Regions from separate parts of the Homo sapiens genome. Here region 2 is linked to region 1. Evidence: promoter capture Hi-C in 16 types of primary human blood cells and fetal thymus (Javierre and others, 2016). All regions are on one chromosome and are shown on one strand. Each heading gives the region's core, a stretch centred on a gene start or on the middle of the fragment in contact. The rest is flanking DNA. Distances are from core to core; before and after follow the strand shown.

Region 1 (2,700 bases), core at 175-2,674:
GAACAACCCATGCAAAGGTTCATACATGCTGGAAAGAAGTTGGTGTTTGAGGTATCCAGAGCAGATCAACTTACTGTACAGTTAGTGGGGAGTGAGGTCGGCTGACACTTGATTGTGCAGGACCTGGGAGGCCATGGTAAAGATCAGAATTCTATTCCTTTTCCCCCCTCCTCTTTTTATTTTATAAAATCTGTTATTTTAGAAAGTTGCAAGACTGGTACGATGTACACCATTATACCCTTCAACTAGATTCACCAATTACTAATATTTTGCCACATTTGCTTTCTCTATTTTTTTGCCATATCTTTTGAAGGTAAGCCGCAAACACTGTGACACTTTGCTGCTAATTACTTTAGCAAGCGCCTTCCAAAAACAAAGGCATTCTTCCACTTAATCACAAATTAATTCTCACATGCAATCAATTTAAAACTGATTCAATATCATCTAATATGTAGTTCATATTTAAATTTCCCCAGTTGTCCACAAATGTCTTTCGAAGTTTTTTTTTTTTTTTAAAAACTATGAACCAGCCAAGATTCACAAATTTCATTTGGTTTCTTTTGACTCTCGACTAAAGTAATTTTCCACTTCGTTTTTTTCTTTTTCCTGTCATGACACTGACATTTTTGAAGAGCCTAGGCCTGTTGTCTTGTAGAATATTCTACATTGTTTTTTTCTGATTGTTTCCTCATGATTAATGTCAAACATTTCTAGCACAAATACTATCGGGTGATATTAGCGATGCTAAGTATCTTCACTTGGTTAAGGTATGTCTAATAAATCTCTTCAGTGTAAAATTCTATTTTCCCTTTATAATAAGAAATGATCTGTAGGGTGATTCTTTGAGATACTAACATCCTCTTCCCTACAACCTTTCAGTTAATTGTTTGTTTTAGCATCTTGCATTCATTAGTTTTAGCATTCATAAGCTTACCTATATCAATTTTTAGACTGGCAGTTGCACAATGGGGATGCAGCGAGGGAAGTGACCCTCCGGATCCCGGGATGCCGAGCCTTTTTCTGCCCCGTAGGGACAGGACTGGGAAGTGGCTAGCCCGCCATTCCTCGGCCCGTCCTTAGGGGAGTCGCAGGACTAAGTGCAGTGGCAGTGGCCTCACCTCGGGCCTTCGCCACATCTTTATTGCCTCAAGGACAGAATTGGAGATCGGTGTCCCAGTCAACAGCGTGGTACTTATGACAGCCGCGAGAAAGCGCACTACTAAAGCCCGGCTAGCAGAGCTGGGAGGCAAACCAGACCGTCAGCACCAGGGCGGCCCACGCCTGCTTCCGCCCATTGGCTGCCCGCGTTTCAAGACCCGCCCCCATATTGGAGAGCTTCTTCCGGTAGCCACTGGAAAGCCCGCAGCGCGAGCCGGCTACGCTCCCTGGCGGAGCTCTGGACGCCCCACCTACTCCCAGCGTTCAGTGCGGTGCCCTGGCCGCCATTGTTTGAATTTGAAAACGGTAACATCGCAGTGCTGCTCGCGGGTCTGGCTAGTCAGGCGAAGTTTGCAGGTGAGGAGGTGACCCGCGGGAATGTGTGGGGAAGGAGGTGGGTGACTGCGCATGTATGGGGCCTAAGGTGGGGAAACGGCTTTGGCAATGTGGACATGTTCCGACAGGGCTCATACCCCAGTGGAGGTTACTGTCAGGAACTGGGTTGCGGAGCGATGCGAACACGGGGTACGCAGCGAGGAATGAGTCATACTAATTCGGTTACGGTTTAAATCTCGCCTCCACTGCTAATTAGCTGAGTGACGCAAGACAATTCATTTAATCTCTCTCTGTACCTTAGTTTTCTTATCAGTTAAAAGGCTGCAATGAAGTGTCTATTTCTTTCGGCTTTTGTGAAGATTAAATGGTAATGTGTAAAGTTATTAGTGCTGGCACACAGTAGGTACTAAATGTTTGCAGTTATTAATATTATTATTGTTGTTGCTTCTGTTGTTGTTGAGGAACAGGCCTGTTTTGCCACACCTAGTTTTCTGAAGCTCTGAGGTGAGCAGTTTGCTCGGCTGGTAGGTAACACGGCCTTTTTGCGGGGGGAGCCCTGTGGTAGCCTCTGTGCACTTATTTCCAGACTACTCCTACTGGTCCTTGGGGCTTGCCCTTCTAGGGTTTTGCAGTGCCAGGCTGAAGAGTTTGTGGCACAGTGACTGCTGTCATTCCCCAGTTTAGAAGGCTTTCTCCATCTCGATTCGCTCGCTGGTTCAGTGATGCATGTCTGGCACAGTTCTCTTATATTTCTTGCTAAACTACTAGTTTACAGAAGTTCACGCCTTATGGGTTAGGTAGTGTAACAGTGTATTTATCTTACATGTCCAAGACTCCAGATTTTAAATTGTAAAAATAACATAAAATACTCATCGATTAGTTGTGAAGACTTTTTTTGAGGCTTTGTGTTGTAGACCACATTCAGAAACCTCATTCAGCAACAGATTCTGCTATTTTTCACCAAAGTCTCCAATTGTGGATTCTTATTGGAGAGAGGGTAAATATGCAGTTTTCCAGTCAGAGCAGCCTTTTGAAATGAAAAATGAGGTCTTGGAGCCTGCTGTCACGAAAGATAATATTACAGACTAGGACCGACTTTTTTTTTTTTTTTTGGAATAGTATTTTCTTTATAACCATTATTTTAAGTCATTAGGTAGTCTTTATCCCTGCATAAGTCGCTGAATTTGTTATAGGGGATACAGAGTG
Region 2 (2,700 bases), core at 119-2,618, 2.1 Mb after region 1:
CATTGCAGAGTTCTTAATTGGCCTAATTTCAATATTATTGTGTTTAAGGGAACAGATAGGCCCCAGGAGAGGGAGAGAGATGGCAGAGTAGCCTGTCAGTGGGGCAGTCAGAACATACACATTTATTGATTGATTGCTGTCTTCTATGGGTGTGGTTTGTGGTGCCTCAAAACAATTACAACAGTGATTTCAACTTATCACTGATCATAGATCACCATAGCAGATTTATGGGAAGAAAAATGATAAACGCAATCATATTGGTAGTGTTCTAGTCCTAGGTTCGTTCATGCATGTTCATGTTATTGATAAGCACCATAACTTCAATTTCATATGTATAAAAATGCTCAAAAAAGTGTACATCCTCTTTTAGCACTGTAGTGAGTCAACATTCCCCAACAAAAACTGGATTTCCTGAAAAACAGGTTAAGGTAGGAGGTTGGGGGGGGGATGCTTTTCAGAATGGCAAAGGTCAACATGTATCATCTTCTGTAAGTAAAATGTATGTATAGGCATACCTTTCTTTCAGTTTAAGACAAGGGGGTGTAGTGGGGAATTATCGTGTAAAACTACACCAGTATCTTAAGCATGAAAATCAATTATATGCTTTTCTTTTGTTTGTTGGTCAAAGAAAAAGATTATAACTCAGAAAACTTTCTTGGAGATGCGTATGCTCAGTGTATCCAAACTTTAGGCATGTCAGGTACAATATTGATTTACAAAAAGTTCCTCTAATCAATCCTGAGCTAATAACTTACTGTGGAAAGAGTAATTGATCAGAGCCATCCCTCCAATTGGAGTCAACTTCCATGACTGTTCGGATTTCCTTTATTTTGGGGGCAGTTCATCCAAACTTCTATTAAACGGCAACTAGTTCACTTTTGAGAAGTGGTTTACAAGAAACAACAACAACAACAACAAAGCAGTTGCGGAGGAAAGAAAAGAGACAAAGTAAAAAAAACGGAAAAGAAATCTCCCAGGAGAAAGGGATGTGGAAGCTGAAAACACGGACAATTTCCACAGTAAGACTTCCAAAAGAATGTGCAAGATCCGAGCAAAACTTTCAAGGGCTCTTTTTCAGTGTAATGGTAGTGAGAAAGTTCAGCCTGGAAAGCCCAGGGCTTAAAACAACAACAACAAAAAACACAATATGCAGGATCGTTCGGCTTCAGCAGAACCCACCGCAAAGATGGCGGTGGGACGAAGCCCCTTCTCCCGCCGCCGAAGCCTCTCGCCTCACATTTCCCACAAACCCTTCGCGCCGCCTCGCTAGCCGAAACCTGCCCAGCCGGTGCCCGGCCACTGCGCACGCGCGGGACGACGTCACGTGCGCTCCCGGGGCTGGACGGAGCTGGCAGGAGGGGCCTTGCCAGCTTCCGCCGCCGCGTCGTTTCAGGACCCGGACGGCGGATTCGCGCTGCCTCCGCCGCCGCGGGGCAGCCGGGGGGCAGGGAGCCCAGCGAGGGGCGCGCGTGGGCGCGGCCATGGGACTGCGCCGGATCCGGTGACAGCAGGGAGCCAAGCGGCCCGGGCCCTGAGCGCGTCTTCTCCGGGGGGCCTCGCCCTCCTGCTCGCGGGGCCGGGGCTCCTGCTCCGGTTGCTGGCGCTGTTGCTGGCTGTGGCGGCGGCCAGGATCATGTCGGGTCGCCGCTGCGCCGGCGGGGGAGCGGCCTGCGCGAGCGCCGCGGCCGAGGCCGTGGAGCCGGCCGCCCGAGAGCTGTTCGAGGCGTGCCGCAACGGGGACGTGGAACGAGTCAAGAGGCTGGTGACGCCTGAGAAGGTGAACAGCCGCGACACGGCGGGCAGGAAATCCACCCCGCTGCACTTCGCCGCAGGTAACCGGGGCCAGCGTCCCCTCGCCTCGCTCCAGACCCCACCTGCGCAGCCGGGGCCCACAGGTCTGAAACCAGTGCTCCTCCGCCTCCCGACCTTTCTCCAGGACTCTGGTCCTGGTGATCTCGCTCTCTTCCAGTGGGGACTAAGGAGATTAGGGGTAGGGTGAGCGTGCCACACTCGCTGGAAGTTTTTTGTTTTGTCTTGGTTTGGTTTTTTTGCCAGGTGTTGGGGGTGGTTTGGGGTTTTGGCTTTGTTTTGTTTTACAGTATCAACAATACCTGTACCAACTTCCGGTCTTGTTACCCTAGAAGGCCTCTACACACAAGAAAGAGTAGGGGACGTAGTTGATAGACCTTATGATTTAAAAGGTCAGTTACCTCCAAAATTTTTCGTTCTTGCAAGTTCCATTTGGGTTAAGGTCTTGAAGGACTTTGTAAAATACAAGGATGTAATTTAGGAGGAGTAGCTTAATAGGACGTTGACACATTAGCGTTAATTGGTTTATCAGAATAGCCAATCATTACCAAGTTTCTGGAGTGACTAGAACGGGAAATAGGCAAGTTTGGGAGAACTGAAACCTGACTTAGGCTGGGTGCGGGAAGCCTTAGACACACACACATACAAGTTGGGCGGAAAGTGGTAGTATAAGAGAAAAGATAGTGCAAGTACTTTAGCTTGAATCTAGAATTTAAGTTGGGACTAACCTTGCTTCATTCTGAAATTTAGATCGTTTGAATTACATTATTTTAATATTTATTAGGTTCACTTTATGATTTAAGCATATTAAATTTAGTCGAAAAATTTAAAAGAGCCATAGATGGGATATTCAGCTTATTCCCATAAAGCATGCATGCTGTTCACTTGTAG

The links. The method cuts DNA at HindIII sites, captures the fragments that hold promoters and counts their contacts. A CHiCAGO score of 5 or more calls a contact.
Region 2: the fragment with the promoter of TNKS2 here is called in contact with the fragment with the promoter of KIF20B in region 1 in 1 of 17 cell types (fetal thymus); the score reaches 6.4 in fetal thymus.

What each region holds. Positions count from the first base shown.
Region 1 is chr10:89,700,166-89,702,865 of GRCh38, forward strand. KIF20B (kinesin family member 20B) reads left to right here and starts at 1,425. Exons shown (of 33, transcript NM_001284259.2): 1 at 1,425-1,515. RefSeq lists a silencer at 947-1,026 and enhancers at 1,071-1,586, 1,587-2,103. The HindIII fragment of the contact is 4,302 bases long and covers 928-2,700 here.
Region 2 is chr10:91,797,058-91,799,757 of GRCh38, forward strand. TNKS2 (tankyrase 2) reads left to right here and starts at 1,369. Exons shown (of 27, transcript NM_025235.4): 1 at 1,369-1,832. The coding sequence starts at 1,634. TNKS2-DT (TNKS2 divergent transcript) reads right to left here and starts at 1,234. Exons shown (of 2, transcript NR_108071.1): 1 at 1,180-1,234. RefSeq lists an enhancer at 1,078-1,247 and a silencer at 1,328-1,737. The HindIII fragment of the contact is 6,559 bases long and covers 1-2,700 here.